Linked DNA regions of Homo sapiens: region 1 is linked to region 2. Evidence: promoter capture Hi-C in human tissues and cell types (Jung and others, 2019). All regions are on one chromosome and are shown on one strand. Each heading gives the region's core, a stretch centred on a gene start or on the middle of the fragment in contact. The rest is flanking DNA. Distances are from core to core; before and after follow the strand shown.

Region 1 (5,852 bases), core at 2,266-4,765, 150 kb before region 2:
CTGAGGAACTACCCAGAAATAATGAGAAGAAATCAATGGACTCTCATGTTCTCTGGTTTAACCTACAAGCCATGCCACCCCTACAAACTCAGACTTACTTCCCAGTGTTTTATGGGTGTTAATCACTGCCTCCTTGTACCCACAGCTCCCTCTTGAAGAACCTGTCAGTCTCTGAGTCTCAAAGCCCTTACTGAGTAAGCAATAGTTGAAGCCTCCAAATCTTGTACTAAGGACTATAAATGGATATCTGACATAGACTGGACCAACAAGATTCTCTGTCCTGGGAAACTGCAACTGGGTCTCACAGATTCCAGCCAGTCTCTGTCAGATGCATGGAAACATAGACCAAATAAATCCTCGGACAGCCTTGCATATGCCAAAGCAGACAGTTGACAATTTGCAGAGAGCAAGGATGAAGCAGAGACATAAGCTGAGAGAAGCAGAGACAAGAAACAGAGAGCGCAACCAAGCAACCTCAGCTCCTGCTTCCAATCTCTGGGTTCTGCAAGTGAACCCCCAAACCTTCTAATACATTCCTTTTTTTTTTTGAGACGGAGTTTCACTCATTACCCAGGCTGGAGTGCAATGGCGCGATCTCGGCTCACTGCAACCTCCACCTCCTGGGTTCAAGAGATTCTCCTGCCTCAGCCTCCTGAGTAGGTGGGATTACAGGCATATGCCACTGCGCCCAGCTAATTTTTTGTATTTTTAATAGAAACAGGGTTTCACTGTGTTAGCCAGGATAGTCTCCATCTCCCAACCTCAGGTGATCTCCCAACCTCAGGTGATCTGCCCGCCTCCGCCTCCCAAAGTGCTGGGATTACAGGCGTGAACCACCACACCTGGCCCGCTCATTTCTTATTTTTATTCTATTTTTTTTCCATTTCTCATTTTAAAACATAAGCCACATAATAAACTTACTTTTGCTGCTCCAACCGAAGCCTTTCTTCTTCTATCCGTCTCCTTTCCTCTTCCTCCCGTCGAAGCCTTTCCTCTTCTTCTCTCCTACGTTTCTCTTCCTCCTTTTGCAGACGTTCTCTTTCTTCCTCTTCACGCCGCCTTCGCTCCTCTTCCTCCTTCCTACAAGGCAAAGATAGAGAATGAACCCTATACGTTGAATCCTGTTTAAAAATAAAACTTTAGCTCCCAGGGAAAACTGACATGACCTTTTTAGAGAACAATGTGGATATATACATCAAAATTTAAAATACATACACTTTACTAGCAGAAACTTATAGGGAATCAATCGCACAATATACAAATCACATCAAGAATAATTATTGTTGCACAGCAACAGAAATGTGTCCATCATAAGAAACTACTTAAGTCATTATGATATTCCTATACCCTGAAGGATCCCCTCTAATATATGCTCACAGCACTAAAAGCTTTTCCTTCATAATACCTGCTGTCATTATAATTAAATTTGTGTGATACATTCAGCAATAGATCTGCATTACCCATTAAACTAGATGCTCCATAGGGGAAGAGACTGCCTATCTCACACCACGACATCCTCAGGGCTTAGCACAGTGCTGGAAAGAACAAGCACTCGACAAACGTGTACAGAAGTAAAAAATCCACCCTGAAATATCGCAGAGCCAAAGGATAGAAATACATTGCCTAATATGTAAAGACATGTAATACACTTGCTTAATGAAAAAAAAAAAGGTGAATACAAAGGAAAAGATCTGGAAGGACATACCCTAAATTTATCAGTTATTATCTATGCAGAGGAGAGTGGAATTAAAAGAAATGTGGGAAAAAAGATTTTTTTCAGTTTGTGTTTCATATACTGCCATAAATGAAAATTTTATATTGCATATATTTGTGTATTATTTCTGAAATTAAAATTTTTTGTAAAGCTTTTAATTTAAAAAAGAACGGTTAACCTCTCAGGGCAGCCCTTGCCCAGCTTTCACCCACCCCACAAGACCCTTCCAAAAAGAACAGATCCTATTGTGCTAGGAATGGACATCTTCCGGGTCTGAGAGTGGTATGGTGTTCAGGGAGCCTGCAGACAGGATGAAAGGGAAGATTTCTAAGGAGTATCAGATAAGACACTATTTCATAAACCTACCACGAGAATTGTCTGGGCTACCTCACCTTTCTCCCCTCTAACTCCTATAAGTGATTAACAACTACCTGAGCCACAGCCAAGTCTCAAAATATTGTAATAACATGACCTATTTTTTTTTTTTTTTTGAGACAGGGTCTCACTCTGTCACCCAGACTGGAGTGCAGTGGCACATTCTTGGCTCACTGCAACCTCCGCCTCCCAGGCTCAAATGATCCTCCCACCTTAGCCTCCTGAGTAGCTGGAATTACAGGGACCTGTAACCACATCCGGCTAATTTTTGTATTTTTTTTTTGTAGAGATGGGGTTTTGCCACGTTGCCCAGGCTGGTCCTGAACTCTTGGACTCAAGTGATCTGCCCGCCTCGTTCTCCCCAAGTGCTGAGATTACAGATGTGAGCCACCACAGGCGTGAGCCACTGCACCCGGCCATGACCTACTTTTAATGTGTCACAGCTGGTACAGAGCAAGAAGGTTCACAAGCCAGAGCTTAAGCTTCAGGATAGATGAAGTCTACTCTTAAACACTTTAAAATAATTCTATGTGGACTTTATCCCATGACAAAAGTATATTTTTAAAACGAAAACGCAGCTCTATATGTTGAGTAGTAACTTTTGACAATGCTTAAGAGAAATATGCATATATATCATTAAAATAAGAACTTAAAAAGCAATATATAGATACTTCTACAGACACCCTAGCGATACCTGATTGATCCAACATCACTACACAATGGACTGTAGGACATAAATCAATTTTCCAGTTAAAGAAATCTCATTCTTTTCTCATAAGAATCAAAACCTTTCCTTTAGATTAAAAAAAAAAATTTCTTTGGATAAATATCTTCTGAAAATGTAATCAAGCAATTTCCTATTATCTTAAATAGGAATAAATCATATCTAATGTTCCATCTCTTGATAACTCAGGGGTTACAGCTGTAAACATAAAAATTGTACATCATACTATTGTAATGGAGAAGTTTACCTTCATATTAAATGACCCCTGACTGCCATGCTTTTATAATTCTCGTGTCTATTTTTCATGCTTTCTATTATGTCCCTAATTATCAAGCTATTTTCTCTTCTAATCTGTTATTTCTAATCCAGGTTAAGGTAGGAAACCAGAGAATCAATTGTTTTTAAAGAATAACATCGGCTGGGCAAGGTGGCTCATGCCTGTAATCCCAGCACTTTGGGAGGACCAGGCGGGTGGATCACCTGAGGTCAGGAGTTTGAGACCAGCCTGGCCAACATAGTAAAACCTCATCTCTACTAAAAACACAAAAATTAGCTGGGTTGGTGGCAGGCACCTGTAATCCCTCTCCCAGCTACTCGGGAGGCTGAGGCAGGAGAACTGCTTGAACCCAGGAGGCAGAGGATTGTGTCACTGCACTCCGGCCTGAGCAATAGCAACAGAGCAAGACTCCATCTTAAAAAAAAAAAAAAAAAAAAAAAAAAAGTATAACATAACCTGAAGAAAAATTGGTTTTGTAGCATCATTTTCATCACCTAAAATTTTAGATAGTCAAAATTGATGAAAATATAGCCACTAGAAAAATAAGGTGTAACTATAATTCTAATTCACAACTACAACAGAGAATCCCATAAGCATAAACAGCACATTCAGTAGCTCCTCCTCCAAAACTTGAAAATAATCAATAAGCCAGCTGGAAGCCAAAGCCAACATGAATGTCTATATAAGGTAGCATAGTTGCAAACCATGAAATGGAGCATGAGGATTCTAGAAGCTCGAGGGAGACTGCAACAAAGGGTATGTCAGACCAGAGGATAGGGAGGAGGGAGTGGTTGAGTTTATGGTGGGGCTTATTCAGAAACTTAGTGTAATAAAACAAAAGGAAGGCTGCCATGATGGATGGGAGGTTCCTTTTAAAGGCACGGCCAGTAGGAAGCAGTCCTCCCTCCCCCCAAAACTTATAATACAAGTACCTGTTCACATCAGGAAGTTTGAACAATTGCCACAAGAAATGGGGATCCAAGGAAAGCAAGACACCTGATCTAGAACTAGAACAGACACTCTACAAAACAAAAGCATCAGTACACTGGGCTGCGCAGCAATAAAGTATTCCATGCCCTCAAACTTCACCTTTTTTTTTCTTGCTCTTCCTTCTCTATTTTGTGGGACGCAACATATGTTGAAAAGAGATGGCAACACCTATTTAAGAGCTTGACAAACTCCACCATGGCATCCTCTTTAGACATGTTTCCCAGGGCTGCCCATTCTCTCCTGTAAGGAATAACAAGAAAAGTTACCTCCCCTTCTTAGTAGAATGAGAACTTTTAAATTTAAACCTAAATATGAATAATTCTCAATTGTAAGTAAAATGAATGATTCTATTGGGAGCAAAAGGCTCAAAACTTCAAGTTTTAACAAGTATGTATTGATTTACTAAATTAGATACGCCACATACAATCCAAACAACTGCATTGCTGATGATTCCCATATAGCAAAAGAGTATCAATTTTTCTTTTTTCTTTTTTTTTTTGAGATAGGATCTCACTCTGTTGCCCAGACTGGAGTGCACTGGTGCGATCTTGGCTCAGCAGAACCTCTGCCTCCCAGGCTCAAGCGATTCTCCTGCTTCAGCCTCCCGAGTAGGTAGGATTACAGGCATGTGCCACTACCGCCGGCTAATTTTTTAATTTTTAGTAGAGATGGGGTTTTACTATGTTGGCCAGGCTGGTCTTGAACTCCTGACCTCAAATGATCTACCCACCTCGGCCTCCCAAAGTGCCGGGATTACAGGCATGAACTGCCGCACCTGGCCTATTTTTCTTATATAATATTTGAGCCTTAATTAAACAAAAATACTCAATGTATTCTTTTTTTGTCACAATTTTTTTTATGCCTCAATAAGGGAATCAATTACTATATATTTTAAATGGCTACTTTTAATATTATTTGGGAAGAATCAAATGAAGCTCTACTTGTCTTATGTTCATAAGCAGATGAATACAGTTCTTCCACAATATTTAACCATAAACATCTCTAAGCTAAAAACAGATAAATATCTGAAGACTCCAGAAGCTGCAAGCAAAAATGTTCAGTTCTTATCCTAAGCTAATGAACCAGCTACTTACACCTTAACCAATACACATTGTACCCTTTGCCAACATTATCCTCATTAAATTCACTATACAGAAAAACACTGTTACCTCCTGTCATTCCCCAACACATCAAAGAATCCAACCTCAGGACAAGTGTCTGGATTATATGGGCCCATAAGAACTTGCTTATGCAGTGCCACAAGCTTCAATTTTTCTTCATAAGTTGGATGAAATGCTTTGCCATCTTTTTCTATAAGAAAAAGAAACACAAAGAAAACAATTAGCACAGGCAAAATACATAATTTTCAGCATTATATACTAAAGCTTTGCTACAAAGCATGTCACAAACTGCCTGTAATAGACACAAACACTAATAGTGAAATTTTTATTTCAATTACTACTTTTAAAAAATTTTTTTATTTTTAGACAGAGTCTCACTCTGTTGCCCAGGCTGGAGTGCAATGGTGTGATGAAGGCTCACTGAAGCCTTGACCTCCGGGACTCAAATGACCCTCCCACCTCAGCCCCCCAAGTAGCTGGACTACACGTGCGTGCCACCAAACCTGTCTTTTGGCAGAGACAGGGCTGCCCAGGCTGGTCTCGAACTTTTGGGCTCAAGCAAGCCTCTCGTCTTGGCCTCCTTTTCAAAACTGCTGGGATTTGAGCCAGCATGCCCAGCCCAATTACTACATTTTATTAATAACAGAACCT
Region 2 (6,043 bases), core at 698-3,197:
ATTGTGACATCCAAGAGGTGATAAGACATGTTTATGATAAAGATACCAAGGATGATGAAAAACATTTTCGGATGACAAGTACACTGTGCTTAGTAGGTCCACACTCATTTGGGAGCATTCTAAGTCACAATCAAGACCAGCTGCGGTGGCTCACGCCTGTAATCCCAGCACTTTGGGAGGCCGAGGCGGGTGGATCACCTGAGGTCGGGAGTTCGAGACCAGCCTGACCAACATGGAGAAACCCCCATCTCTACTAAAAATACAAAAAAATTAGGCAGGCGTGGTGGCACATGCCTGTAACCCCAGCTATTCGGGAGGCTGAGGTAGGAGAATCGCTTGAACCTGGGAGGCAGAGGTTGCAATGAGCCGAGATAGTACCATTGCACCCCAGCCTGGGCAATGAGTGAAACTCCATCTCAAAATAAATAAATAAATAAAATAAATCACAATCAATTGTATTCTACAAATAAACAGTACAGCTCATGACTGGTCAATAGCTGTGCCCTACCCAATACAGTGACTACTAGCTACATGTGACTATGCAAGTTAAAATTAAATAAAATTCAAAATTCAGTTCCTCCATCACTCTAGCCACATTTGAAATGTTCCATGGCTACATATGGCTAGTAGCTTGGCTGCCCTACTGGACATCACAAAAGAGAACAGTTCTATCATGGACAAAGTTCCTTGGGGACTTAGTGCTGCTCTCTATCAAATTTAAAACACAAACACTTTTAATACGACTTTTCACCAGCTTGGCAACTTGAATTTTTAACTTTATAACTTACTAAGAACACATGACCTCACAAAGAAAATGGAATCGGTAGTATGTTGAGTCCTCATTTTTAAGTCCATTTGCCTTGTGCATAGATAAGATTCAATAGTAATTGAGCCTTTCACAAATATGTATAAACTGAATAGTGAAAGTGGATTCAGGACTTTTTTTTGTAATTAAATAACATATTTGTCTTTTCATATAATTTATGCAATATTGTAAATTACAAAATTAAGTTCCATTGCCCTTAAACTATGGAATTGGTGCTTTTACTTACTCAACACAAGTGAGCATACATGTCTTAGATGTCAGGGTGAGTAAACATGGTTAGGGGAGGCAATGCCCTAGGGTGGGTGTCAGGCAGGGTACACGTACGCTGTGTTGGTCACATCCATGCATAAAGGTACCTTTATGGCTCTTAAGACACATATAGAATAAAGTCTGCGGGACGGGGTCTACCTGAACACTGAGTATCCGGGCTGGATGATCTCAGGAAAGGTCCACAGCCACCTGTGGTCCCAGGGGAAGGGGCCAACCCTCTGACACGGAAACACTTCCAGGGGTGGACACACCGGTGGGGGGGTGGGGAGGACAGTGAAGATCACAAGTGCCCGTAGAGGCAGGAGCTGTGACAGGACAAGATCAGAGGCTGGGGCAAGAAGAAGGGGCCGTGGACCACCCCGTGCCCAGCCCGAGCCCTCCCCCGGCCCCGGGACAGGCGAGTTACATAACCCCGGCGGGCGTCTCTCGGCGCCGGGCGAGTGGTGCAGGCGGCGAGGACAGCCCCCGCGCCCAGGGGCCGCTCTTCCCTCCACCTCGGCTGGGGGCCGGAGTGGCGCCAGGGGAGCAGCCACCGCCTCCGCCTGGCACAGGCTGGACTCCCGGGCTCTCGGTTTCCGGCCCTGGCGCTCACACAACCCCAGAAACCAACACACAGACACCATAACAAAGGCGGCGACGCGGCGGCAACACCGGAGTGGGAGGACTAGGGGACCACAGTGGGGCTGGCAGTCAGCCCACCTGCCCAGCGGAGGGCACGGCCGTCCGTCCCGGCCGGTGCAACCGCTGGGCAAGCAGCAGGCGGGAAAAGGGGGGGGTGCTTTGAGGTGCTACTCACTCTCGTCAGGCAACTGGTCGAGCTCCGCCATCTTGAACGAGCCGCGCCGCTTTTTCAAAGGCTGCCCGCCGCGGTGCATTGTGGGGCGGAGACTGTCTTTGCGAGGGAGGTTCGAATGCGGAGCTCGCTGCCCGCGGCGCCGCGCTGCGCTGCTCCCGCCGCGGCTGGCTGAGGCGGGCCCGGCTCCGCCCGCGCCTGCCCGGGGAGGAGGTGCCGCCGAAGGGGGGCCGCGCCTCGCCCCTCCGCCGCCGCCTCCGGCCGAGCCGGGCGGGAGGAAGGGAGGAAGGAGGCCGCACGGCGAGGCCCGGCGCCGGAGCGCGGGGGGAGCAGTACCAGCTCCGGAGTCCCGCCCGGGCCCCGCTCCCGGCGCATGTTCCGCGGCCCGCGCTGCAGCTGCGGGAACTGCAGGCTGTTTGTTCCGAGTGGAGAACGGGAGGGAGGCCCCGGCGGGGGGAAAGAAGCCCTCGGTTCTGGGTCGCATTGCCCGAGGGGGCTCTACGCAAAGTGAAATACTCACAGTTCCCGAAACCCACGTTGCTTGGGCGCCTCCGTCCCCTCACTTTTCCCGAGACCGCCGGCCGCAGCAGCCCCCTGCGCGTCGCGACGTCCGGGACTCGGTCCCAGCGGCCCCTCGCGATCCGGGCACGCCTTTCCCGAATGTTGGAAGCTGAGCTGCGTGCAGCCGGGGAGCGAGACCTTGAGAGGTCATGAAGTTGGTCATTTAGGCCGACAGCTAAAGAACTGTTCTGCTCAGCTGTTTCATCCATTCGACACTAGATCGTGCAGTGGGCTGGAAGAGAATTAGAAAACGAGTAACAGGAGGCTTCGAGAGGATACAGAAAGGAACAGTGACACTACAAGGTGATAAAGTACCTGATCCAAATGTTATGAGAATACTGGACGAGAATTGAACGAAATTGAAAGAAGCCCAAGGAAAAATTTCACAATATCTGTCTGTAACACTTTCCAGTAATAAAACACTGTTGCTTTTCAAAAATTCATTTAACGAATGTCATTGAGCTCCAATCCTTTTCTCCAGGAATTTATGGGGGTTGGAGGAATGAGACCGTTAAGCAGTCAAAAGACAACGTGGGTGAATTCCAGGAACTACAAAGTTAAAAGGCGGTAGACTAAGGTGACAGAGTGGTACACAGAGGCCCGCCCAGGCTAAGGAGTTGAACTTGCTTAGTCCACTGGAGCAGTGGAAAAGTCGGGTGTAAGAGGGGCACGTTTCTATTTGTGTTTTAGAACAAAAATATGGGAAATGGATTGGTGGGGGACAAGATGAGAGCCTAGAAACCAGTCAGGAAGAAGCTTATTTGGGGCATGCAAAGGACAGAAGAGAGATGCCTGCACTGGTAGCTAGAGAGGTGCAGCGGGTGGGCTCTGGAGCCCCAGGGCCTCGATGGGAAGAATCCAGATGGGCTGCTAGTTGTATAATCTCAGGCACGTTGGTTTCTTAACCGAATTCTCTGTGCCTCAGTTTCTTATCTGTAAAATGCAAATAACAGGGTTATTTTGAGGGCTAAACGATTTGATAGATGTAAGGACCTTATACTAGCTGCTAGCACCCATCAGCTAGCCACTATTACCACCATTACCACAGCATAGGCAGTATTAGAGAGAGGTGGCAGCATGCACTCCACCTTTCAAGACGTGGAAAATAAAGGATTGGGTGAGTCACTGGGTGTGAGGAGAAGGAAGTCTCATTGCTGATGCCAGCTCTGTGCCTTGGGTAACTGGGTGCTGCCATGCTAAGGTAGGAGGGAGAGCAGGGAGTGAGCAGGGAGGGTGAAAGTTCAATTTTACAAAGTAATCCTTCCTTCAGAGCTAGCTTAACCTCTCCTTTGCCTTCTAAACACACTCTGATCTGCTCCCTAAGAAGATTAAAACACTGGTCCTTGTTGTCAGCACCTAGGGGGTGCTTCAGCAGCTTGCACTTCAGTATCAATTTGGAGATGAGATCAAGAAAAGGTCAGCCCTTTAAGAATGGAAGAATAGAAATTAAAAAAACATGAGAGGTTACCAGAGTGGGAGAAGCAAAAGCTTTGTGAATGTCATGATAGTCAAGGTGTCATTAGACCAAGGCAAACCTGGTTTTATTCTGAGGCAGTTTTCATGTACACGCAACAACACAACTACTGTTTAAATCAATGTTTTTAGGCCCTTGCCTGATAATCTGCATTTTAAACAAAAACTTTGACTCTTCTCATAAATCCAAAGCCTGAAGCTGTATCCTAGCCCCAGATCTAGCGCTTAGCTGTGTGATCGAAGCCAAGGCACACCTAACTCTTCAATAAGTTTCGTTATTGAATATTTATGACAGGTTTTACAATGATTGGCTTACTTGATTCTCCCAACAACCTGGTAATTTGTCCAAAGACAATGGCAAGCAAGTGCTAGAATCAGGAATCTAGCCCACTTTTCGGTGCCTCAGTGACTCCCTCTGTGATGGGAGGATTACACGTATGTCTTTGTCCATTTGTGCTGCTATAACAAAACATCTGAGACTGGGTAATTTATAGACAACAAGAATTTTTTTTTTTTTTTTTGAGATGGAGTTTTGCTCTTGTCACCCACGCTGGAGTACAATGGTGTGATCTCGGCTCACTGCAACCTCTGCCTCCTGGGTTCAAGCGATTCTCCTGCCTCTGCCTCCAGAGTAGCTGGGATTACAGGTGCCTGCCACCACTCCTGGCTAATTTTTGTGTTCTTAGTAGAGACAGGGTTTCACCAGTTTGGCCAGGCTGGTCTTGAACTCCTGATCTCAAGTGATCTACCTGCCTCAGCCTCCCAAAGTGCTGGGATTACAGGCATGAGCCACCGTGCCCAGCCGACAACAAGAATTTATTTCTCACAGTTTCAAACGCTGGGAAGTCCAAGATCAAGGTGCCAATGTTGGTGTCTGGTGAGGGCAGCTCTCTGTTTCCAAGATGGTGGCTCGTTGCTCCATCCTCTGGAGGGGATGCATGCTGTGTCCTCACATGGTAGAAGGGACAGAAAGGCAAGAGAACACCTCCTTCAGTCTTGAGCCCTTTCATAAGGGTGCTAACCCCATTCACGAGAGCAGAACCCTCATGACTTAATCACCTCCCAGAGGCCACACCACTTAATACTGTTGCATTGGGGATTATGTTACAACTGAATTTTGGAGGGAATACCATCATTCAAACCATAGCAACATGCAACACAGGGGTATTAAGTTTCCTGCAATCACTTATTCCAATTTAAAATGACATGACTGTGTGTGGTGTTTGCTTTTTAAAAAAAACAAACCACGGTGTGGATAAGGTCATTAAGTCATGAAAAACCTAAATAAAAATACACCATAAGAAACATCTCATGTACCATCATAAATATATCCACCTACTATGTACCCACAAAAATTCTAAAAAATTTTAAAAATACCATAAGAAAAATAAACATGGCCACGTTTTAGAAATACCAGGTTTGACCATTTCTAGTCCTGTGGCCTATTTATCAATTATTGGGTTGGATTATTTTTGTGAAAACAGTTGCAATGACTAAAGATAAAATGTGTGTGTTGGGGGCCTGGTGCAGTGGCTCACACCTGTAATCCCAGCACTTTGGGAGGCTGAGGCAGGTGGATCGCCTGAGCACCTGAGATCAGGGGTTTGAGACCAGCCTGACCAACATGGTGAAACCCAGTCTCTACTAAAAATACAAAACTAGCCAGGCGTGGTGGCTTGTGCCTGTAATTCAAGCTACTTGGAAGGCTGAGGCAGGAGAATTGCTTGAACCTAGGAGGTGAAGACTGCAGTGAGCTGAGATCACACCACTGCACTCCAGCCTGGGTGACAGGGTGAGACTCCGTCTCAAAAAAAAAAAAAAAAAAAAAAAAAGCGTGTGTGTGTATAGTATGTGTGTGAATGTTTTTATAAATACTTTTGATAAAGTTGGGAATTTGAGTTAGTAATGAAAAAACAAAGACAATTCAGTTTGCCTTGCTTGAGTATCTCAGCCATAATGAGGTAAAAAGGCTCTCCAGCCTATAAATATATATATTTTTAAGTTATGTTGCTGGTAGGACTCCACACTCAGCATTTCCTCTTCCAGCATCCAAGTACACCAGGAGTACTGATGGCCCCAGGATCTAGGTTCAAATTGCAGTTCACCTACTTCCCTTGTGT

The links. Contacts are between HindIII fragments. The study calls those that stand out against the background at their distance.
Region 1: a fragment that was not itself captured here is called in contact with the fragment with the promoter of LIN9 in region 2 in 1 of the 25 tissues and cell types used here (hippocampus).

Annotation. Positions count from the first base shown.
Region 1 is chr1:226,160,610-226,166,461 of GRCh38, forward strand. It overlaps ACBD3 (acyl-CoA binding domain containing 3), which reads right to left. Exons shown (of 8, transcript NM_022735.4): 2 at 5,250-5,391; 3 at 4,180-4,320; 4 at 922-1,080. Among named protein-coding and RNA genes, the nearest start is that of ACBD3-AS1, 16 kb to the left of the region's middle. RefSeq lists an enhancer at 3,244-3,413. The HindIII fragment of the contact is 3,778 bases long and covers 1,627-5,404 here.
Region 2 is chr1:226,307,217-226,313,259 of GRCh38, forward strand. LIN9 (lin-9 DREAM MuvB core complex component) reads right to left here and starts at 1,948. Exons shown (of 15, transcript NM_001366245.2): 1 at 1,893-1,948. The coding sequence starts at 1,923. RefSeq lists an enhancer at 1,081-1,847 and silencers at 1,401-1,630, 2,051-2,300. The HindIII fragment of the contact is 7,036 bases long and covers 1-3,572 here.